Regions from separate parts of the Homo sapiens genome. Here all the other regions are linked to region 4. The links are contacts of gene promoters, found by promoter capture Hi-C in blood cells and fetal thymus (Javierre and others, 2016). All regions are on one chromosome and are shown on one strand. The core of a region is centred on a gene start or on the middle of the fragment in contact, and the rest is flanking DNA. Distances in the headings are between cores, read along the strand shown. Region 1 overlaps RBM19 (RNA binding motif protein 19). Region 2 overlaps RBM19 (RNA binding motif protein 19). Region 3 overlaps RBM19 (RNA binding motif protein 19). Region 4 holds the start of LHX5 (LIM homeobox 5). Region 5 holds the start of RASAL1 (RAS protein activator like 1). Region 6 overlaps RBM19 (RNA binding motif protein 19). Region 7 has its middle 46 kb from the start of LINC01234.

Evidence for each region. Contacts are between HindIII fragments. The CHiCAGO score rates a contact against its expected background, and 5 or more counts as called.
Region 1: a fragment that was not itself captured here is called in contact with the fragment with the promoter of LHX5 in region 4 in 1 of 17 cell types (megakaryocytes); the score reaches 6.2 in megakaryocytes.
Region 2: a fragment that was not itself captured here is called in contact with the fragment with the promoter of LHX5 in region 4 in 1 of 17 cell types (M1 macrophages); the score reaches 5.1 in M1 macrophages.
Region 3: a fragment that was not itself captured here is called in contact with the fragment with the promoter of LHX5 in region 4 in 4 of 17 cell types (endothelial precursors, M1 macrophages, M0 macrophages and 1 more); the score reaches 6.4 in endothelial precursors.
Region 5: a contact is called between the fragment with the promoter of RASAL1 here and the fragment with the promoter of LHX5 in region 4, in 9 of 17 cell types (erythroblasts, neutrophils, total B cells and 6 more). The highest score is 14.5, in erythroblasts.
Region 6: a contact is called between a fragment that was not itself captured here and the fragment with the promoter of LHX5 in region 4, in 2 of 17 cell types (M0 macrophages and endothelial precursors). The highest score is 6.4, in M0 macrophages.
Region 7: a contact is called between a fragment that was not itself captured here and the fragment with the promoter of LHX5 in region 4, in 2 of 17 cell types (megakaryocytes and M2 macrophages). The highest score is 6.9, in megakaryocytes.

What each region holds. Positions count from the first base shown.
Region 1 is chr12:113,952,639-113,955,879 of GRCh38, forward strand. RBM19 (RNA binding motif protein 19) reads right to left here. Exons shown (of 24, transcript NM_016196.4): 7 at 2,493-2,573. Among named protein-coding and RNA genes, the nearest start is that of RBM19, 12 kb to the right of the region's middle. The HindIII fragment of the contact is 3,342 bases long and covers 283-3,241 here.
Region 2 is chr12:113,872,922-113,876,326 of GRCh38, forward strand. The region is part of intron 21 of RBM19 (RNA binding motif protein 19); the gene reads right to left. Among named protein-coding and RNA genes, the nearest start is that of RBM19, 92 kb to the right of the region's middle. The HindIII fragment of the contact is 5,903 bases long and covers 1-3,405 here.
Region 3 is chr12:113,932,412-113,935,625 of GRCh38, forward strand. The region is part of intron 16 of RBM19 (RNA binding motif protein 19); the gene reads right to left. Among named protein-coding and RNA genes, the nearest start is that of RBM19, 32 kb to the right of the region's middle. RefSeq lists enhancers at 1-306, 1-1,840, 556-700, a silencer at 563-741 and a cis regulatory region at 619-636. The HindIII fragment of the contact is 1,497 bases long and covers 913-2,409 here.
Region 4 is chr12:113,470,138-113,473,291 of GRCh38, forward strand. It overlaps LHX5 (LIM homeobox 5), which reads right to left and starts at 1,734. Exons shown (of 5, transcript NM_022363.3): 1 at 1,189-1,734. The coding sequence starts at 1,361. LHX5-AS1 (LHX5 antisense RNA 1) reads left to right here and starts at 1,866. Exons shown (of 2, transcript NR_126425.1): 1 at 1,866-1,945. RefSeq lists an enhancer at 816-1,616. The HindIII fragment of the contact is 6,712 bases long and covers 1,077-3,154 here.
Region 5 is chr12:113,133,946-113,137,080 of GRCh38, forward strand. It overlaps RASAL1 (RAS protein activator like 1), which reads right to left and starts at 1,816. Exons shown (of 21, transcript NM_001301202.2): 1 at 1,453-1,816. The coding sequence starts at 1,517. RefSeq lists a silencer at 1,803-1,942. The HindIII fragment of the contact is 4,772 bases long and covers 1-3,135 here.
Region 6 is chr12:113,894,619-113,898,043 of GRCh38, forward strand. All of the region lies in intron 21 of RBM19 (RNA binding motif protein 19), which reads right to left. Among named protein-coding and RNA genes, the nearest start is that of RBM19, 70 kb to the right of the region's middle. The HindIII fragment of the contact is 3,949 bases long and covers 1-3,324 here.
Region 7 is chr12:113,817,712-113,820,927 of GRCh38, forward strand. It overlaps a transcript of RBM19 not described here. Among named protein-coding and RNA genes, the nearest start is that of LINC01234, 46 kb to the left of the region's middle. RefSeq lists enhancers at 237-1,164, 1,165-2,090. The HindIII fragment of the contact is 1,778 bases long and covers 826-2,603 here.

The DNA.
Region 1 (3,241 bases), core at 704-3,203, 480 kb after region 4:
AACCCAACGAAAAGACATGGGGCAAATTTCTAAATCAGAAAGGATTACAAAGTGTTTCATTCTTTAGTTTTTCTCTTTCCTTATACGTATCGCTTCTCCAATTACCTTGGAGAAAATGTGAAAAAGAAAATTGGAGGAGAAATGAGTAATATAAATATAAAATAGCAGTGTCACTATCAGCGTTAAAATAGCGATGTCACGATCCGCATTTCAAGGCACTGTTTCCCCCCTAGATAATTGTATATACTTGGGATTAAACCTGGCTTTTTTCACTTCTCATTAAGCTTGAGTATTTGGTTTTTGTGTATTAGTTTTGCAAGTAGCCACCTAGTGGTTTTGGTTTTGTTAATTAAAGCATGTGATTTTCTGAATGGTTGATACTGAAAGAATTCTGACAAAATTACAAGCAACTCAGTGAGTTTAATAAAACCTACATGCTTGCTACTCTGAAGTTTGATAAGTTGTAATTCAGATATTTATAAACATAGAGTACCAGAACAGATAAAGACTTCAAGAGAAAAAAGGGCAAAAGACATGATCGGGCACTTTCCAAAAGAGAAGATATATTGGCCAGGTGCGGTGGCTCACGCCTGTAATCCCAGCACTTTGGGAGTCCAAGGCGGGTGATCACCCGAGGTCAGGAGTTCGAGACCAGCCTGGCCAACATGGTGAAACGCTGTCTCTACTAAAAATACAAAAATTAGCTGGACATGGTGACAGGTGCCTGTAATCCCAGCTACCCGAGAGGCTGAGGCAGGAGAATCACTTGAACCCGGGAGGCGGAGGTTGCAGTGAGCTGAGATTGCACCATTGTACTCCAGCCTGGGAGATAAGAGCGAAACTCTGTCTCAAAACAACAATGACAACAAGATATACACGATCTACAAATGTGAGAGAGTATGATCCATCTTACAAGTAATTTAAAATATAAATTAACATGAGATGCCAATTTTACCTATCACATTGATGAAACATTAATAATACCCAGGGTTCAGGAAAATGGGCACTTGTAGACTCTGCTACAGCGAGCATAAACTAGCAATGCTCCCAGAGGGCAACTGATATTATGTGCCAAAGCCTTAGAATTGTACACACATTTGCCTACACAGAATATTTATCTGGAGCAAAGATCAGCAAACTATGGCCCACGGGCCAAATATCACCATGGTCTGCTTTTGAATGGCTTGCAAGCTAAAAATGGTTTTTACATTTTAAAGGATTACCAAAAAAAGAGAAAACAACGAATATGTGACAGAGATTAAATGGCTTACAAAGCCTGACATATTTACCATCTGGCCTTTACAGACGAAGTCTGCTCACCCCTAATCCCAAGGAACTGAATTATTATTTATAACAGCAAAAAATTGGATATAACTCCCACGTCCCAATTTAGGGGACTGAGTAAACCTACAGAAGTTTACCCTGAGTAAGGAAGAGCATGAGCATAAAAAATGCTGCTGTAGCAGAGTATATTCAATATTCAAAGAGGTCTATAACATACCATGATGAGGAGGAAAAAGGGGTTTCCAAAGAGTTCCCAGTAAATGATTGCTTCTTAGACATACAAAGACAAAAACGTCCAAGAAGAGGCTTCAGTGAGCTATGATGGCAGCACTGTACTACAGCCTGGGCAACACAGTGAGACCCTGTCTCACACACACACACAAAAATAATAATAATAAAAACTAAAAACAAAGGAAAACAAAACAAAAACCATCTAAGAAGACACACCCAAAATGTATCAGTGGACGTCACTGGGTAGATACAAGTGTGTTGGCCAGGGCAGCCCTAGTTTGCCTGGGATGAGTTGTCACTGTATTTGGAGTCGTTAGACCTGCGGTAATTACATCCACAGCCTGGCACCCCATTGGGGTAGCACCCCTCTCACTCTCAATTTAGTGTAGATGATAATTTAGTAGTCATCCTACTTACAGGCAATTTTTAAATATTTTTTATTTAGCTACATGGTTTTGAGTTTTCTATATTGAACTACTACTTTCACGAAGAACGAAAATTAAGTGTTCTTCTGCTGTTACAGACCCAAAGGCAGCAAACTACAGTCCACAGGCCAAATCTGGCTCACTGCCTGTTTTTGTAACTAAAGTTTTATTTATTTTTACCTACTTTCTGAGACTGCTTCCTTGCTATAAGAGCAGGGTGAGTAGTCACAACAGAGACCGTGTTGATCACGAAGTCTTAAATATTAACTGGCTGACTGCCCCCACAACCTTTTCTTTAACAGAGTGTGTGCCCACCCTGGTGTGGGTACTGGTGAGTGAAACCAGAACCTCCTTTGTCTTGGTGTAGCCATGCCTGTTTCCTGACCCTGACGATGCCGGAGATGTTATTTCTCAGCCTTTTTGGCCCCCAATTCCTTCCAGCTCATGTCCTCAACCGACTCTAATGCCCCCATGCACCAAAGGCTCCTGGCCTCCCCACCCTCGTCTCCTGCTCCCGCAGGCTGCCGACCCTTGTCCTCAGTTAGCACATACCTCTGTGACATTGAACGGGGCTCCCCGCAGCTTCACGGTGTGGCAGGTGGTGGGTTCCTTCTGGTTTGCTGGTTTCTCTGTCTGAGTGATCACAAAAACAAACAGAAGTGGCCACACTAACCCTTCGTACAGCTGCAGGAGGTGGCACACTGGGACATTTCAGTGCCAGAGAAGGTGCCTGCCGCCAGGGGGAGCTGGGGAATGCTGGGAAGAATCAATGTCCACCGTGTATGGAGTCTGGCCAGAGGTGGGGCTAGGTGATGCCAAGTCTCCATGTGCCCCTGAGACGAGGGCTGGAACCAGAGCCTGGCAAGCTATGGGCACCTGGACAGGGACCCTGGGGCTACAAGGAGGGGCAGGGTGGGAATGTGAAGGAGCCCTGAAGAACGGGGTGTCAGTACCACTATGTAGGGCTTATCAGTGCCAGACACTAAGCCAAGCACTTTACAGATGCCAGTGATCTACTACATCTTCACAACAATCCCATGGGGATTATGGGTTCAGGATCCTTTTTCCCACAACTCCGGAATCCAGACACCTCTGAAAAAACCTAAGTTTCTGGTAACCTTTATGGCAACAAAACCTGCCCCGACTTGAATGCACTTCCCAGCAAAGCCTGCCCTGAGTGGATGTGAGCCCATATATAGCTTATGCTGATTCACGCAGCGCAAGCAGTCTTGTCCATGCGTTGCAGAAATGTGACTGCGCTTGACCGTGGGGTGCTGCCTTTTATCCTGTATTTAGTAACA
Region 2 (3,405 bases), core at 17-2,516, 400 kb after region 4:
GAGGTGGGGGGGGTCAGCCCCCCCGCCCGGCCAGCCGCCCCGTCCGGGAGGTGAGGGGCGCCTCTGCCCGGCCGCCCCTACTGGGAAGTGAGGAGCCCCTCTGCCCGGCCAGCCGCCCCGTCCGGGAGGGAGGTTGGGGGGTCAGCCCCCCGCCCGGCCAGCCGCCCCGTCCGGGAGGTGAGGGGCGCCTCTGCCCGGCCGCCCCTACTGGGAAGTGAGGAGCCCCTCTGCCCGGCCACCACCCCGTCTGGGAGGTGTACCCAACAGCTCATTGAGAACGGGCCAGGATGACAATGGCGGCTTTGTGGAATAGAAAGGCGGGAAAGGTGGGGAAAAGATTGAGAAATCGGATGGTTGCCGTGTCTGTGTAGAAAGAAGTAGACATGGGAGACTTTTCATTTTGTTCTGCACTAAGAAAAATTCCTCTGCCTTGGGATCCTGTTGATCTGTGACCTTACCCCCAACCCTGTGCTCTCTGAAACATGTGCTGTGTCCACTCAGGGTTAAATGGATTAAGGGCGGTGCAAGATGTGCTTTGTTAAACAGATGCTTGAAGGCAGCATGCTCGTTAAGAGTCATCACCAATCCCTAATCTCAAGTAATCAGGGACACAAACACTGCGGAAGGCCGCAGGGTCCTCTGCCTAGGAAAACCAGAGACCTTTGTTCACTTGTTTATCTGCTGACCTTCCCTCCACTATTGTCCCATGACCCTGCCAAATCCCCCTCTGTGAGAAACACCCAAGAATTATCAATAAAAAAATAAATTAAAAAAAAAAAAAAAAAAGAAAAGGCACTGTGTATTTTAGGAAGATTTCCACTGAATGGTCAACATTTTCAGAGGGCTGATACTTAAAGGTATAAGGTGGCAAAGTCACTTACTGGGGAAACCCCTCATTGTTCAGTGATGGGAGAAATGAGACGCATGGTGCGGGTGATGAGCTGAGTTACACGTGTCTGGACCAAGTGGGGAGTGCTGTGCCCCAGAGGGCCAAGAGCCAGATATCTCGCCATCACCCTGGAGACCTGCTTAGCACAGAGACAAACAGATGAACCTAGAAACCCAGTCACCGCCCTGCTAAATGGAAACAGAGAACAGCAGCAAGGTGGAGGGTGCCACCTCAAAGGTGCTCCGACCCAGGCTGCTTGTCTGCACACGACTAGCATTTGCTGTCACCCTGCTTCATTTGTCACCTCGATGTTATGGGACTTTGCATTCTATTGCACATTTTTTCCCCTCTATTTGTTTATGGTTGGTCTTCCTTGCTAACTACTGAATGGCCGGCACCCAGAACAGTTCCAACAGCACCTGGCACACAGTAGGTGCCCACTAAAAAGTGTCTGTGGAGTGCTGATGAATGGAGTTATTAATGGATGCTTGTCTTTTCCTGGATTTTCTGATTTCTGGCCCCTCTCATGATCGGGCTCTCAATACCTGAAATAAGAAACGGGGAGTGGGAGGAAGCGGCACTTGCTGAGCACCTGCCCTGGCCATGCCAAATGCTCTACACGCGCTGCCTCCCTTTAGGCCCAGAGCAGACCCACTGGGCGGCAGGCCTCCCAGGACGCATGTGAGACCTCGAGGGGAGGTCTTATCTGAGGTCACAGGACTTGCGTGTGGGTCTGTCTGACTGTGGATTTTGCTTTGGCACACTGTGCCCCACCCTGGGGACAGTAACCAGCTTCAGCCCTTGAACTCAGTCCTTATGTTCTAGCTGGAGCCCGCCAGCCACTGGGAAATGATGGCAGAAGTGGAAAAAGAGGCTGAGGAGATGATGATGGATAGGGAAGGCGGCTTCTGAAGAGCTAGCATTCTAGAGGTTTCTGACACCTGCCATGAGGAGGAACACTCCAGAACCCCCATGATGTTGGAAAGCCCAGTTCAGATGCTCCCCATCCTCTTGGCAAAAGGCCAAAGCATCCAAATGGCCCTACACAACGGCTGAAAAGAGGGAGCGGGCATGGTCACTGAGTCTCCCTGGGAAGTCCCAGACCAAGAGGTCACAGCCATGAGGGGACCACTTTTCCAGACCAGTGGGGTACAGATTGGGGTGTACTTCAGGTAATTGAGTAGCTTCAACATCTGAGCTTCTCAAGAAAGCCAGGCCTACTGTCAACCAGGAGATGACAGCCAAGACACCTCTGCAGAAGATGCAAGCGGCGAAGCCACGGTGCGGACCGTTCGACAGAAAGCGTTGGAGGCCTCCCAGGGACATGTCAGGGGACAGGGAGCACGGGAGCGAGTGATTCATGCCGCAGAGCCTGCCAGTGCTCATGGGGAGGAGAACGAATCACCCTGCTGGGACAAATATTATTTTTAAAAGTCTGGGAAAGAAAACAACAATAAAACAAGCCGAGCTCAGGATGACTGGTGAGTTTTAAGATGCAGGGAAGGGTTGAAATGAATCTGCGAGTTGGACCATTTGTTTGAGGCCAAATAAACCAACAAAGAACTCGATTCAATTACAAAAGTTTAGAATTGGATGGTGAGTCAGAAGCTGAGAGCCCAAGAGGTCTAATCGGGTCTGTGCGTGGCCTGGAGTCCAGGACCGAGAGGAATGGACTCTGGAAGGCTGGTTCCTGGTGGTGATAGGAAAAGGCAGAACATGTGAGTCAGAGCACGCAAATGTGACAGCCCAAGTCGGGACAGCCCTTGGACATCTTGGTGTATGTAGGTGGGAGTCTCTTTTCTTAATAAGAAACCCAGTTAGGACCAGATAGGATTTGGGGTGTAGCAAAACCAAGGAGCCTGAGGCAGAAGTGAAGAGAAAGACGAGAAAAATCAATGGTCAGGAGGCCCCTTGCAACAGCCACTGTTTATCTCACAAGTGCGTTAAAGAGCGTCATTTGCAAAGTTCACGCAGAGGGAAAAGTCAATGATCGTGTCTCTGGCGACGCACAAAGCCCAGGATGTGCTTCATCTCCCAGCTGCCTCTCTGTGCACACACAGGAGAGGGGCCGTTTGTGTGAATCTCGGCCACACCTCCCCTGTCCTCACTTCCTCCTCCTCCATTCCATTTGGAAGATGGGGAAGTGTGGTCACAGCTTTTTCTGAGGCACAGTGACTATTCCAGCAGGCCTGTGGTGACGTGTGCCTTGGGGTGGGTGTGGGGTGGGGAATTTATTGTTAGAGGAAAAATAATCAAAGGTTTTCACACCCTCATGGGGCAAGGTGGGAAATAATTAAAACCAGACTAGGATTCTCTGACTGGATTCAAGTCCCGCATTAAACAGAAATTCTGTCTGGATCAGATGTTGTGTTTCCTATATCTGGGTGGGGGGCTGCTCCCGCAACTGCAGGGCAGAATCTGCAACCTATGCTGGGAGTGGCTGCCACCCACACTGGGAAGAAGGTAAGTCTAGAGGCATAGCTGGGAGGTGGGGGTCATGAGTGTGAACCTGGGAG
Region 3 (3,214 bases), core at 411-2,910, 460 kb after region 4:
GTTGGAAATCCCTAACCCTGGGAGAGATAAGACAACCCAGTGTGGGGAGCCCTCGGCCCTCCCTCTCCTTCTCCCTGCAGGGTAAGCTGCTGGCTTCAGGCTCCCAGGAAGGCCAGCCAGTGCCAGGCGTCCGAGTCCACAGCTGGGCACCCTTGCCAGCCAGCTACTGCTCCCCGAGTCACCAGGCCAGGCTGTGTCCAGAGAGGCGTGGAGACAGCCAGGAGCCAAGGCCATGAAGCCAAAGGTCATTTTAAAAAGCACTTCTGCTGCTGGCCCCAAGTTGGGAGACAAAAGAAAGATGGGAAAGAAAAAAATAAGGTATTGTGAAACTCAAACAGATGTTTGCCAACAAAAACACCAGGAACCAGAAAAAGAGGGAAGAAGTGAGAAAGGAATCAGGGCTAGGCCTGGGGGCGGGGGAGTTGGGGGAAGGATCTAAAAGCAAGGTGGGCTGGAGGGGGTTGGGAGAGGCAGGGGAACTGTGCTTCCATCTGTAGTTAGCACAATCAAATCCAGTCACGCATCGCCACATGGGGCTTTATTATAATCAGGCCACAGAATTTACTGCGGCCTCCTCCCCTTTCCCGGCTCTCGGCGCTGGAGCTGACAGCAAAGACTGTTATCAGTTGCAAGCAGCTTTTCAGGACCTCCCCCCACTCTGAGCCCTTTATCTGGAGGTGAGGGTCTTGGTTGTGGGGAGATAAAACACGCTGTCCCCCTCCCTCGAGACTGGTACAGAGAACAGGAGAGCTTTGCAGAAAGGAAGGGGGTAAAATAAAAAAAAAAAGGTATGTCCACTCCCCTCCTACTCTTCTTCCTTGGGAGCCTGAGAAAATCCAGGGCTTTGTGGGCTGGCTGAGTCCCCCCAGCCCTCGTTGTCCTCGTACAACGGGGGAGTCGGGGATTTGGTGAAGCTTCAGGAACAATGCAAAGAGGGTGGGGGTGGGGGAGGAGCAGGTGAAAAGAACAGCACCCGCCAGGAGGGGCTGTGCATGTGCTGCGTGCAGTGAGGGCAGGAGGAGGCCCTGGAGATCAGCTCTGTGGGAATTCACCGATGACGCGGGACACAGCGGGGCTTGGAATTAGCACAGACACGCACAACTTCCCGGGCCAAAGGAGGCCCAGCGGCCGGGCTCTAAGGCCTTCTTTGTGTGAGTCATGGTCAGGCCCTGGAAAGCAGCCCCTCTGGGAGGTAGGGGCTGTTGGACACATGCTCAAACCTACAATGTAGACCCAGGAAGCAGGGGGACCCGCGGGCAGGGGGTGGGAAAACACTCTGACCGTAAACCACAGCATGCTATCTCCGTGATGCACCCTGTGCTGTGATGCAGACATTTCTGTACTCAGGGCCCACTTCTATTACTACTTGTGACATCTCACTTGTCCCCCAACAGCTCTATTGTCCTCCACAGCTCAAAAGTTCCTGGGGAAGGGGGTCTGTGCATCTGTGTGGTGTCCATCTTGATCACCCAGCTCGGCTGCTGGCTTGGGGCTGGTGCCCATGGTGAGTTAAAGACTATCCACTGTGCCATATTTTTCTAAATTTTAATTTAATTTTTGAGATAGGGTCTTGCTCTGTCACCCAGGCTGAGTGTAGTGGTGCAATCTCGGCTCACTGCAGCCTCCATCTTCCAGGCTCAAGTGATCCTCCAACCTCAGCCTCCTGAGTAGCTGGGACTACAAGGCATGCACCACTACGCCCAGCTAATTTTTGTATTTTTTGTAGAAATAGGGTTTTGCCATGCTGTCCAGGCTTGTCTTGAACTTCTGGACTCGAGTGATCCTCCTGCCTCAGCCTCCCAAGATGCACTGTGATTTATATTGCTCAGTCACCAACAGCAGCGGAAGACTGGTGATGTGCATGTGACATCCCACCACGCCCTCAGAGGGCGGGGCGGATATCATGCCCGTTTTACAGATATGGAAACTGAGCCTCAGAGAGGCAGGTGGCTTGGCCAGTCACAGAATGGCTGCTTACTGGAAATCTCAGGGCCATTTCCCCAGGGGCTCTAGGCCTCACATGATGAGGATGCCAAGGACTTAGAACCATGCCTAGCATGGCATAACTGCTGCTTTTGCTCTTGGGTTCACTCACACACACTTCCTGATCACTATCAGCCACTGGGGCACGTTCATGGGTGCTAGGATACTGCCGTGAGCAAGGTGAATGGGGTCTCGGCATGTGGAGTGGCCATTCCAGGGGCAGAGTCCGACAGAGCAACACCGGGGAAAGGAACCATTCATGACACAATTCCAGGAAGTGATAAGCATTTGAAATAAAATAAAGGGCCATTTGTGAGAGTGGGGACAAATGGGAGCCCCCTCTATTATTTTGATTGATGGTGTTATTGTCACCACTGTGTTCTGAGGCTGGGCTAACAACGAAAACCAAACGTTCAAACCTAACTAAGCTTCTACTGTGTGCCAGAGCCTTGGGACACAAAGACAAATATGACCCGGCCTCATCTTTCGAAGGAACAGAGAGGCAGATTCTCATGCATTCCCTCACTCCCTTGACACCTGTGAACCGAGCTTCCCTATGCCTGGGCCCCCCGGGGTGCTGGGTACCGGGCAGTGAAGGAGACAGCCCCATTCCCTGCCTTCACGGCTCAAAGTCTGGCTGAGATAGGAAACAAATACAAGTAACAAATAAACAGAATAAATAGAAATTGTGACAAGTGTTAGAGAAAAAAGAAGACAGCAGAGAGGGATAATCCCCAGGACACAAGGAAATGAAGAGCCTGGTGGAAGCGGTCACTTTGGGAGCCACCACGTGTCCCCAGCCTGCCTCCTGTTGCCACCCAAGGCTGCGGGAAGAGGCCTCCACCAATTTGTTTTCAGTGCCGCTCAGCCCTGGCTGATCTCTGCGTTTCAAAGGAGAACTCGCTTTGGGCCAAAAAAAAAAAACATTACTTAGGTTCAAGGGTGGTAACTGAAGTAAAAATCAAGGCAGCTGTGATTTGGGGGAGACAGTTAAGAACAAGCCAGGATGACATGAAGAGAATTTTGTTTTGATGGGAACAGGCACAGGTTTTGAAGGAGACCCTGATCCAAACTGAGTGGAGAGAGCTTAACTCATAAACGAGCAGGAGTCGGGCTTTCACAAGGTTTACACCAATCATCATTAACCCCAACGATGTGGGATGCTTCTGGGTCCTCAGATCGCAAAGGGACTGAAGGATTTTGTTTCCTGATTGAAACAGGCCTCCAGACA
Region 4 (3,154 bases), core at 484-2,983:
TCTTTCTTCTTTGAGCTCAGGGAGAAAGCCAGCCTCCCCCGAAATAGGAGATGGGTGAGGCTCAGGTTGGGGGTGGGGTGGGGGAGGACCCAGGACTCTAGGGACCCCACATCTACTCACACCCATGTCTCTAAACAGGGCGAATTTGGGTGACATTGATGTAGTGAGGGCATTAGAAGCCATAAGTCACTTTTGGCCTTATCCGGCAGCGTAATTGGCCATATGCACCTTATCAAAAATCATTAGGCACTTTGCAAGCACTGCTACATTAGGGGCATCGGGCCTCCGGGTCCAGGGAGTTAACACGTGTAAAGGAGCGGCTGACATTTTCTCCCATTCAAATTCTCAGTGCGGAGTCGCTGGGGCCGGCAGGCTGCCTTTCTCTGTGGCGTGATTCACGCCCCCATTCCTCAGCGCGGGGAATTCCTGTTCACAAAGCCGGCTCTGGGTGCCCAGAGGAAACAGGTAGGGCTCAGCTGCCCCAAACTCCAGTGGCTTCCAGGCTGGGGAAACTGAGGCCCAGAGAGGTGATCTGCCCTGGCCAGCCACAGGGCCCACAGGGGTAGGGGGGCTGGGGAGGTGCCACAGCCCAGTCTAGACCCCAGAGGTCCTGATTCTCAGCCTCGATTTCGTTTCTACTTTTCAACATGGGAGGAAATGTTTAAGGGGTTGGGAGGTGGGTGGGGGAGGTTCTCTCCTCCCATCACCAGGGGAGACCTTCCTCGCTGGGCCCCCTCTGGAGCTGAGAAGTTTCTGTTTGGGATTGCGGCCGATGGGCTCACACATTCTGCCTGGAGCGAGAAGCCTTCAGGCGTCTCTAACTCATGCAAAAATCCTTCCTCTCTCTCGGGACGGGGCTTGAAGCTTCTGTCTTGGGGTTGCAGCTGCTTGGAAGGGGCGGAGAGGAGTGGATAGCAAGTTTGTCAGGGCTTCCTCCCTCTGCCCCGCCAGCGCTCTGAGCCGGCCTCGAGCCAACGTGAGGCAGCGAAGCAGCGTCCTTCTTCCTCCGCCTGGGCTCGGGACCTTTCCTGGACCAAGGACAGGAGGAGAGCAAAGTGCTGCCCGCTCCCCATCTAAGCTTGTGATCCGGGGAGGCTGGGATGGGGATGGGGGTATCCCCTTCCCCAGCGCCCCAGTGGAGCGCGCGCAGGGTGGGCGCGCAGGCAGCAGAGCGGCGCGGCCTCTTACCTGAAAAAGTCATTTTTGCAGTAGAGCTTGCCCTCGCGCGAGAAGCACTTCTCCGAGAGGTTGGTTTTGCACTCGCAGCACTGAACACATTTGATGTGCCACGCGCGGTCCAGCACGTTCAGCAGAAAGCGGTCGAGGATGGGCCGCTCGCAACCGGCGCAGTGCACCATCATAGCCCCGCGCCCCGGCGGCTTCGGCCGCCTTGCCCTCCCTTTGGGCCCCTGGCCCTCGGGCCTGCCGGGCCCTCCGCTGCCCTTCGCCTCTTGTCTCAGCAGCTGCAGGGCGAGTCTGGTCCGGACCAAGACTCAGCCGGTCCAGTCCTTGGGCAATCTCTGGCCTGGCGCTGGGCTGCCCGGAGTGGGGTGGTGGGGGGCGGGTGGCGTTCACAACCTCATGCCACGGGCCGCACGCCCCGGCGCCTGTTCCGGGCTTCCCCAGGTATCTCGGGTGGCTGCTGGCCTCGGCGCTGCGGAGCGGCTTTCCCCGGTGGCGGAGGCGCCGGCACTTTCCCCCACTTTCAAGCGGTCCGGATCCTCATCTTTGTCTGGTCGCCGCGTAATTCGCGCATCCTTATTCAGATTTGGTGACGTGGCGCTGCACGTAGGGGGCCCAGCGGCCAATGGGCGCACCGTGGCCATGGCAACCTCTTAAATTTATAGCATATCTAAATTGGCTACAGCGTTGCTGTCCGGACAGAGCAAAAAAAACAAGGCATCAGTATTGTTGAGTATTAGCTTGTACCTGGTTCGGAGGCTAAGTAAGTATTTACCTTCCAGTTTGGGGCTGACGGGGCGGGGGCAGCGCGAAACGAAAATTGCGTCTCTCTTCCTCTCTCTTTCTCCTCACAAATATTTGGGGGTCACGGGTTCCAAGGCCTAGTCCGGGAGGTACCCCTGCCCCCTTCGCCATCCCTGGAACTTGCAGAAGTTGCCCCACGCCCCACACTTCGCTCCCCTTCTCCAGCCCAGCCAGCCCAGATTGGATTCCCCCACCCCCGCGCCCCCTCTGCGCCCTGAAGCTGCGTCAGCGCGGTTCTCCCGGCTCCTGGAGCCGGCCCCGGCTTCTTTTTGTCATACACGGGGCTGGGGCCCAGCCGGGCCTTTCTCATGGAGAGAGCTAGTGGAGACCGCGCGGCCTGGGTAGTTTTCCCCGCCCGGCCGCCGAGCCCAGGCCCAGGCCCAGGGTGGGGAGGCGGGGGAGCAGGAGGGGTGCCATTTGGCCTGGTCCCGAACTCCAGAGTTTCAGGCCTGAGTGCGCTGCTCACGGGGCTCTGAGGGAGATGTGGACAGGGGGAGATTCAGGGTGGACGGGTCTTCCCGCAGACAGCTCGGAGGTGGCACTCACCACGTCTCTCCTTTCCTCGCTGCACCTTCCAGATTCCAGGTCAGCCTATGGGGCACTGTGGTGAGTGGGTCGTACGGCTGAGGCGGGGGACACCAGCGACTATGAGAGCGCTGTTTGTATTCACGCCGTGCGGGCTGGGTGTGCAAGTTCGTCCCCTCATTGGGCGCAGGAGAAGCGGCGCACGTATGTTCCGTGCTCGGCAGGGCGCCCAGAGTGTGAGGAGAGAGAGTGTGTGTGTGTTAAGGGGGAGGGGGGATGTTGGCAGGTGTGCGTGAGGAGGGGGTGTGTGGGTCTGAGTAGGAGAAGGGACCAGGCCTCCTTTCCCCTGGGGCCAGCGTGGCCACCAGGGATCCTAGTTGGGGAAGCCGGGAATGGGCAACCAGGATTTGCCTTTCGCTTCTGGAAAGGGGGCTGAGGGAGTAGGGCCTGGGACCAAGGGCTGGAGCTGGAGGGGTTTGTGCCAGCACTTGGCTGTGAATGTTTGTTTGGGTGTGTTTCCTGAGCTTGTTAGTGTATACTCGCTGTTTGAGAATTCCATTTTTGCATCTGTTTATTGTGTTAGTACCATCAATCCTGTGAGTAAATTTCTGCGTGTGCGTTTTCGTGTGTGCAGATTCGTGTG
Region 5 (3,135 bases), core at 566-3,065, 340 kb before region 4:
GGTGACACCCATCGCCCCCTCATGACCTCTCACCCAGGGCTGGTGGAGGGGCCAGAGCTCAGTGAGTGAGAACCCCGTTTCTGGAAAGAACTCCTTTCACCACCTAGCAGCTGCCAGGCATCCAGCCTGGCCTCAATGCCCTAACAGTGTAGGCCGTCTCATTCCCAGGGCCTCTGAGGGGACATCTTAGAAAGAGTCTGGTGGGGGGGCTTGTCCAGCCACTGAACTGTCAGAGCACACACTCTGCTTCTCATTCAGGGTGTGTATATTTGGAGTAGCCAATGAGGATGAAGGGTGGCAAAAATTGCTCTCAACAGCTGCCCCCTTGACGCAGCTGCAGTGTTTTGGGGGTTGGGAATGTCATAAAATCAGGCAGGAAAGTCCTCTCTGGGAGCCCACACCTTGGGGAATCAGCACAGAGCTAAGACTGAATCTTGACACAGGTGAAGGCTCCCAATCCATGCTCCTGCTCACCTGGGCCACAGGGGAACTCCTAACAGGTCCTCCACCCTCCCAGCTGGATGGGAGACCCCAGGCAACCAGATGGGGACTCCGGTCCAGAGCTCTCATTGCCCAAATGGGAAACCAAGGCCCAGAGAGAAGCAGGTTCAAGGTCACACAACAAATGTCCTCCAGAGGATCCCACACCTGTCGCAGGTGCTAAGGCCCTCAGAGCCCCTTCTGGGCACTATGCCAAGCAGGAGGGGGAACCCGCCCCCCATATTCTGCTGATTCAGCAGCTGCTGACTCAGCCCTGGGGGAAGCATAGCTTGGGACTAGTAGTGAAGGGAGCCGTAGGGTCCCCCAGTCCCATTGCACCTGGCTGGGGAGGGGGTCGCAGCAAGGAATTGGCTCTTCAAGCAGCTCAGCACCCGGGGAAGGCCCACACGAGGCTGGGAGCCACAAGACTGGGGAGCTCAGGGCTTGGGGTCAAAAGGACCCTGGAGGGCCACCTGGTGACACTCTGCAAACCTAAGCACCAGATCCACACAGGATGTTAGGGCTCATCTGATCCCAGGCCCTCTCCAAGGGTCCTCCCCAGGGTTCCCTTGCTAGGCCCCCACCCACGCCTGGAGGAGCCACCTCCAACATCTGCCTGGACTAAGGAAGAGACCCCCCGCTTTCTCCCCTCCCAGATCTGACAGAATATGGCCCTCTAATCCCCTCTTCAGCTCTGGACGACCCCCTTTAGTACATCCCGGGAACAAAGACACCCCCTCCCCTGCCCGGGGGTGAGGCGGGGCATCTGCTAACTCTAGGCGCCCCCCTCCCACCGGGACAGCCATGGGCATGCGGCCTCTCGCCCCTTTAAAGCGGAACTGCCCCAAGACCAGTCTTGGACAAGAACCCCTCGCCCTCCTGCCAACCCGCCCTGGCACGCGGAAAGGGCGACGTCGGCCCCACCCCAGGCCTTGCGCGCCCCTCACCCAGAAGCGCCCGAGGAGTACTCACACGTCCTTGGCAGGCAGCGCGCGGCCCTCCACCACGCGAACATTCAGGGAGCTGCTCTTGGCCATGGCGCCTAGCCACAAACTTTCCAGGCAGAAGGGCGCTCAGGTTCCGAGGCTGGACCAGGGGACGTCTACATGTCACCTGCTTCAAGCCTGGCTCCCTGCCTCGTGGTCCCAGTGCCGCCTGTCCGAGACCCGGGTAGCTGGATGGGAGATTTCCGAAAGAGGAGAAGGTGTAGGTGCCCGGGGAGGGAGCGCCCGTCCGGACTCTACAGGTAGGAGCCGTGCTCCGAGCAGGAGGAGCGCGCAGGGGGCGCAGCGGGCTCTTGCCGAGGCGTCTGGAGCTCCAGACAAGCAGGCTGGGCGGGCAGGGGGCGGGAGGGGCGGCCCAGGGACCTCCCCACAATCCCGCCTCCAATGGGGTCCCCCACCTGACCCCGGGCCCCCTCGCGCGCCCTCTACCGGCACCCCAGTCATGCGCGCCAGAGCGCACGGGCGGCGGAGACAAGGGTGCACCGCCAGGTGGGGAGGGGCCCCCGTCCTGATGGGCGTGGCCGCTGGCTCCTGGTGAGTTGGCATTGGGCTTAAAAGACATGGTCTGTGCCCCCGCCTGTCCCTCATCCAACATATTCACACCTCTCCGCCCCCACCCCTCCTTGCCTACCATGCAGACACCTGCCTCCTCTCTCCAACCTCCGCGCCCCCCGGTCCAGGAGCAAGTATTAGTGGTGGGTGGGAGGCGTCGCCAGAGAGAGGGTCGCATGTTCCCTGGGGGTCCGTTCAGAGTCAAGGGAGGGGCCTTGAACATCCCCTTCCATCTCGTTCTAGTTTCCAGTTAAACACAGAACCCAGACTCTGCTCTAACGTCACGGGCTGGCACTGCGGGGGAGGAAGCCGCGGCCAGATGGGGGAGGGGAAGGCTTGAAGATAACCACTACAGCGATGATAAAAAGTCATCTACAGTTGTTTGAACACTTCATGGGTGCCAGGCACTGTTCTAAGCGCTTTACTGGGATTAGCTCATTTTTGTCTCCAGATGTGCACTACACACTACTCCACTGTTACCCCATTATCCGCAGTTTATGGATAAAGAAACTGAGGTTCAGAGGGATTAAATAACTTGGCAGAGGTCTCACAGTCAGTAACTGATTTGCCTTCCAGGGGTTCGAATCCTGGCTCTGCCATTTGGTAGCTGTCTGGACTTGGGTAAGCCATTCAACCTCTCTGTGCTTTGGTTTGGTTTTCTCATCTGTTGAGTGAGGATGACATTGCATTTCAGTCACAGGATTTTGAAAGAATTAAAAGAGTTAATGAAGATAAAAGTCTCAGGACAGTGACAAGTACCTAATACACGTCCAGAAAGTGTTTGATATTCTGATTGTTGTCCTTTGAGGCGTGGGCCACGCGTCACCTCTCCTGGGAAGGCTTCCAGGATGCCCTTCCACTCCGGTAGAGATTTTCTTTCCTTTCTCTCTGCTCCAGTGGCTCCAGGTTTGTACATTTTTCTGATTTTAAATGAGATAATATGACAGGCAGGGCCTGTCCCAGAACAGATCCGTTCGCACACTTATTTCTCCCTGTGAATTCATTGTTGACCTGCCCAAGACCTCTTAGAAAGGCCAGGCACCAATGGGAGTGCCCCTGCAGACTGAGTGCGGGAGCCAACGCCCAGACCGGTGAGACC
Region 6 (3,425 bases), core at 100-2,599, 420 kb after region 4:
ATTTTTCTCAAATTCTGCAGGGATGAATTAAGGTCTTAATTATTCTGGAAGTAGATGAGGAATCTACCTGCTTACAGAGCTGCATTTTCCTGAAAAGGGAATAATAAGCTACAAATCTACTTCTCCAAATGAAGGTCTGGGCTAGGACTCAAAGCCTGTGCTATCTGAGAGCAGAGTCCAAGCACTGGCTGAAGTGCTTTGCAGACAGTCAAGTGGGACACACCCTTGTGCGACGACACTAAGGCCACGACTGGGACAGCCACATGCCTGACCATTTTGATATTGGACAGGGGCTGTCCTTCACCTGAGCAAAGCACTTCCCCAAGCCTGCTCTTCTGGCCAGAGGACAAGGCCCATCGCAGGGGACGTGGCACACAATGAGAACCACTTAGGCCAGCAGCCAGGGAACTTCACTCATCAAGGCTTCTGTGCAGCATGCACAGTGATAGTTGATATTTGCAAGGATGAAACAGGGCCCAGCAGGTCCTGAATCACCTTCTGGATCATCAAAGATTTCAATTACACTCCATCGAGTTCCCATGTTAAGTATATTTTATTATATTTGAATTCCCTGGAAAGTGGCCATCTATGGTATTGATGGTAACTCTCCATTAACCTGCAAGGTGGCCTGCCAGGAAGACCAATGCCTCATCTTGGTTGGGCGGGAGAGAGTGTGTGTCAGTCCACGAGGGATGATGGGGCAGGGAAGGTGAGCTGCTGGGAGGGAAACAGTCAGGACCACCTCTCAACCATACAACATGCCCGGCTCCAAACCCACTTTCCTTATCTGTGAAATGGGCTGCCTGGCCTCCTGAGAGTGAAGGATACGTACGGCATTATGAAAGATGAGGAGAGTTACATGGGTGAAATAGGCAAGATTGCCAGACACATGTCAGAGAGGGGAAGACGCCTAACAATACAGAAAACACGACATCATTTTCTCTAAATGGACACAACACTATCACATCCGTCGCCTACAGGTTCACATATGTACAAAATGCAAAGACAAAGATCTAGAAGGAGATTCGCAAATGAGTGGCATGAATTTCTCCAGGGAGGAGGGTGGCACAAGACTTGGGTGGCAGTGGATGAAAGGATATCTTGGCCTTAAATTTTACTTTCAGCAAGGAAAACATATTCATGTTTTAATTGTGCAACTACATTTTTTAAAAAAGAAAAAATCTTATATATAGGATATATACTATATATCTATTGGATTATATATAGAATATATACTATAGCTATATATAGGATTACATATAGGATATATTTTATATATGTGTATATATAAAAATCCAATATATACATTTCGTTCTCTCTCAAATATACATGTACATATCTATGTATCTCTCTATACACATATCTATAGATATATATGTAGAGAGGAGAAAGGGAGAGAGAGCTCATGTGTGCTGGGTGCATGGTAGGGGTACAATAAAGGATGAACGATTATAATTAGGCTGTTTTTGAATGTCAAAGATGACCACATATTAGCATTTTTCTGTAATTTAACCTGTCAACTGTCAGCTAAAGGGCACCCCAATCCATGAGGTCGCTGGAGGTAGCTAGAATGAGGATGGAAGTGAAAACAAAACAAAGCAAACCAAAGAGAAACATCCTGGGCCCTGGGTCCACCTATCTTCCCTGTAATGTGCTTTGTTCGCTTGCCCCAGAGCAGGGAAAACCAGGCAAATTCTCCGGAATGCAGCGGCCCCATCACGTGAGGTGCTTAGAGCTCCAGGGAATTTCTGGGCTCGGGGGCATGTCCGCCTTAAAGGTTCAGGCCCAGGCTGTCCCCACAGGCTCCGCCCCCCATGGGAGGGGAGCCACACCCTGGCTCCAACCTGGAGGACCAGCTCTTGCCAGGAACACTGGGAGGCACAGACATTACAGTGAAGAAAATTAATTTTCTTCTGAGACTTTTATGTTTTGGATGCTCTTGTGACACCCCATTGAGATGGCTGCAGGCAGGCTGGGTTTTTTCCCGAAATCTGGGCTGAGAAATCCATGTTCTGAAATGCATTTTACAAGAGAACAGAGGTGAGGAGAGGGAAGGCGGGAGGAATGGTGAATAACCCTGGATACCAATCCCAGCGCCTCCAAGACGATGGTGAAATGTACGAAGAGTCGAAACAAAATGGAATCTTGAGGCCAGCACAGCCTTTCTGGCTCTATTACAACAAAAGAACCTCTCCTATTTATTGAGTGCTGATTTTGCACCAAACACTAGGCTGCAGGATCTTTTCATGGCACTCCTAGGCCGAAAGAAATACCTAACAGTTTGTTTATTAAGTAGTTAGGGCTAAACAACTTGACAGTAGCAGTTTACACCATCTCTGACAGATGTGGCTGTTTTTCCTCAGAAATCTGAAATAGCCCACAGGAAAGGTGTCAGTTCACTGTGGCACCCTGAGGTGCCTTGGTACACAGTTTGGGAACCATGGCTTTGGGCCAATGGCTTTACTTGTTACTTTACTGAGCCCTCCCAATAGACCCGGCAAGTATTTATTATGATCTCCATTTTATAGATGCAGATACTGACAGTCAGTGTTTATTTTTTTATTTTTTGAGATAGAGTCTCGCTCTGTCGCCCAGGCTGGAGTGCACTGGTGTGATCTCAGCTCACTGCAACCTTTGCTTCCTGGGTTCAAGCGATTCTCCTGCCTCAGCCTCCCAAGCTGGGATTACAGGCGCCCACCACCATACCCAGCTAAGTTTTGTATTTTTAGTAGAGATGGGGTTTTACCCCGTTGGCCAGGCTGGTCTCAAGCTCCTAACCTCAAGTAATCCATCTACTTTGGCCTCCCAAAGCACTGGGATTACAGGTGTGAGTCATGGCACCCGGCCCAGAGTGTTTAAATGACTTGTCCAAGTGTGACAGCTGAAGGAGGTAAGATTCAAACACCAATCTAGCCAGGTGTGGTGGCTCGCACCTACAATCCCGGCTACTCGGGAGGCTGAGGTGGGAGGATCACTTGAGGCCAGGAGTTCAAGACTGGCCTGGGCAATATAGCAACACTCTGTCTCTTAAAAGCAAACAGAAACACCAATCTGATAGACTCTCAGGGCGGCCATGTTTGGTCGTGCAGGTTGAATACTGCACAATCCTAGAGGCCACCACTCCTGCAGATTACAGTACTGACCATCTGAATCACTACGCTACCAGCTGAGGCTTGACTGTGCACAAAGCCTCCAGCTGTAGTAGCCCTTCCCTCTTCACTGAGCAACCTCTTGCTTTGACTTCTATGATTACCTGAGCAGAGCCTCTGGCCACATCCCATTCCCAGGTAAACAGACTCACAGGACATGCCAAGGAGCACCAGAAGCTTCATTTAACCTTGGTGGCCAAGTAGCAAAATGACTAACTCCAATAGGTAAATTGCATCAAAACCAGCAGCATTTCAACCACAGGTGGGCTTGGCTGG
Region 7 (3,216 bases), core at 465-2,964, 350 kb after region 4:
CCAGGGGCCCCGGAGTCTGGTTTTCAGAAGAGACAGTTCTGCTGCCGTGGCCATGGAGTCCTCACCCACTTGAGACCCCCCAGTTGAAAGGGTTAGGAACAGGCTGGGCATGGTGGCTCACACCTGTAATCTCAGCACTTTGGGAGAACAAGGTGGGTGGATCACTTGAGGTTGGGAGTTCAAGACCAGCCTGGCCCACATGGTGAAACCCTGTCTACTAAAAATACAAAAAATTAGCCGGGCGTGGTGGCTCACACCCGTAATCCCCACACTTTGGGAGGCCGAGGTAGGTGGATCACTTGAGGTCAGGAATTCGAGACCAGCCTGGTCTACATGGTGAAACCCAGTCTCTATGAAAAATACAAAATTAGCCGGGCGTGGTGGTGCATACCTGTAATCCCAGCCTTGGGAGGCTGAGGCGGGACAATCGCTTGAACCAGGGAGGTGAGCCCAGATCACGCCACTGCACTCCAGCCTGGGGAACAGAGCGAGACTTTGTCTCAAAAAAAAAAAAAAAAAAAAAAAAGAAAGGGTTAGGAACAGACACACAGACACAGCAATAGACAGGCAGCTGCTCCTGTGGGGGTGCTCACCTGTTTCCCCACAACCATTGGCCCATTTGGGCTTGAACTTTGGTTCTGTGCAGGAAGAGCCAGGTGCTGGTTTGCCTACTGGGGCCAGTGGGCAGGGGGGCACCTCCTACAGGCTCCTTCCTGGATCATAGGCTCCTCCCCAACATGGCGCAGCGCCCTGTGAGTCCCTATCCCGCCCCAGCCTCTGGACGTGGGCCCAGCTGGCCTGACATCTGCTGGGTGCAGCCCCACAAGCTTGCCTTGTTTTGAAGTTATGTTCACAATAATGATGGCAACTACCATTACTAAGTACTCACTAGGCATGACACAGTCTGCTAACTACTTTCCATTCATGACCTTCTGTTTCTGTCTTAACCAATCCAATGAGGCAGGAATTCCTGCACCCATTTGAAAGACATGGAACGCAAGGCCTGGAGACACTGAGAGCCTAGAGATTCTAACGCAGGCCTTTGGAGTCAGGGCCTGTGCATTCCGCTCTCCTCCTCCCGTCCCCACTGTCTCTCACTCCTGTCCCTCCTCCAGGCCCCACTGTCCCTCACCCCTGTCTGTTCTCCAGGACCTGTCTGACCACCCATCTCCCTCCTGCAGTCTGACTGTGTGTATCCTATAGTAGAGATGCCAGGGCCCTCCTCACCCATCCAGGGGTGGACCCTTGGTGGAGACGCCACGTGGGACAGAGGGAGAGGGCGGGATGCCTGGAGTTTCTCTTCTACCAGCCTTCCAGGCGCCCGCTAGTGCCCACTGCTGGCCAAACTGAACACAAGCCTCTTGATAAGGGAGTTTCAGAGACACAGCTCAAGGGGCCAGGCCCCTGAGACCCACAGCGGGTGGGAGACGGACGTGAGGACAGCAGATGCGGTTCCAGCCAGCCCTCCACTCTGGAAACAGCCTGTCCCCGTTCCTCCCAGCTAACTGAGCCACACTCTGAACACCGGGTCACAGGCCTCATCCAGATGTGTGCCTCTGGCTTTTCTGAGGCACGTGTCCTACTGACCTCCCACCTCCCTGTGTCCCTTTGGCCCCTCTGGCCTCTTGGTGTCACCTCTCCTTTCCTACGCAAGTGCTCTGGTCCAGCCTGTTATGGTTCTCTTTCCCGGCTCTCTGGTGACCATATCGGCAGGGAAGGGTCACAGCCCCCTGAGATGTGGCTGAGGCAGTTTCCTGCCCCCTGCAGCAGTCAGTCCTGAGCCGGGTCAGGAGGCTCACCGCCCTGGAGGAGTGCTCCCTCCTCAGTGCCACCTCTGTGGGTTATTTCTGGAGTTTCTCTCCCAGATCTTCTGGGTGTCTGTGTCTACCAACGTCCCATCATTGCTTCAAAAACAACCGAAGCCGCCTTTCAGAAAGCTCCCGTGTCCCCCTCCCAGTGACAGCGGTGACTCAGTCCCTTGCTGCCTTGGCTCAAAGGCTTAGAGTCTCCCAGTTCAACCCCCACATGCTGGATGGAGGAATTTCTCGTAAGACGCTTTCACCAGTCCCTCTTCTCCAAAGGAAGAAGAGATGAAGCCCCTCCTCTGGGCCAGGCAAATGACTTTTCCCGAGCTCCGCTTTATGGCTACCTGGCTGTACTTTACTGCATTCTAGAACAATGATGATGATTGTAACAAAAATCTTAATTGCTTTCCTAGTTCCCGTTTAAAACAGTTATTTTTGACAGGGTAAAAGGCTCTGGGTCACTGAGATCTTGCTCACACTCCAGGTTGTCCCCTGTACTGAGTGCTGTGACTGAGAGGGACAGGGGATGGGGGATAGGGGGTTGGGGCTGGGTGTAAAGAGGAGCTGGGTGTGGTTACTGCAGACGAACTGATCAGGAGTCTGTCTCCCTCAGTGAGGAAGCAGAAGTTAAACCGGGGCATCCAAACTTTTGGCTTCCCTGGGTCACCCTGGAAGAACTGTCTTGGACCACACATAAAATACAATAACACTAGTGATAACTGATGAACTAAAAAAAAAAAAAAAAATTGCAAATTTAAGGAAGTTTACAAATTTGTGTTGGGCTGCATTCAAAGCCCAAGCTTGGGTTGGACAAGCGTGATTTAAGATCTCAAAGGAAAATAAAAAGGCGCCACGCAGGAAGAATGTGAGGGAAGGGCATCCCAGGCAGAGGGAAGAGGCAGCTCGAGGGCCCTGGGGTGGGAGCCTGCAGGGAGGAAGGCCGGGACAGCGAGTGCAGGGTCAGGTGAGGTGGGGCCTCGGTGCTGGGGTGAGCAGCGGGACTCGACTTTCCATGCGTCAGGGAGGCCCTAGAGGGTTTGAAGCTGCAGACTGACATGATCCAGCTCACGGATCAGTCAGGCCACACTGGCTGCACGAGGACAGCTGAGCCGGAAGAGAGGAGATGAGGGTGCAGTCTGGTGGGCGCGGCATGAAGGGGCACCCTGAGATCTCTGTGGGAGTGGACTCCACTACTCCTGTGTGCTCACAGATCTGCCCCTTCCAAACAGTGCGTGCCTGGGGCAGGGGTGCAGGGGCCAGGCTCAGTATATGGCCTCTAGGCTGCCTCACTCCCCACTGCCAATTCCAGGCCAGGCCTGGCGAGTGGCTGGAAGCTCTCCCTCCTCTTGCTACCTTTCACTCTCCTGCAGTTCCTGAACCTTCCCCAGCTCACCAGCTTTCTTTTGGCCAC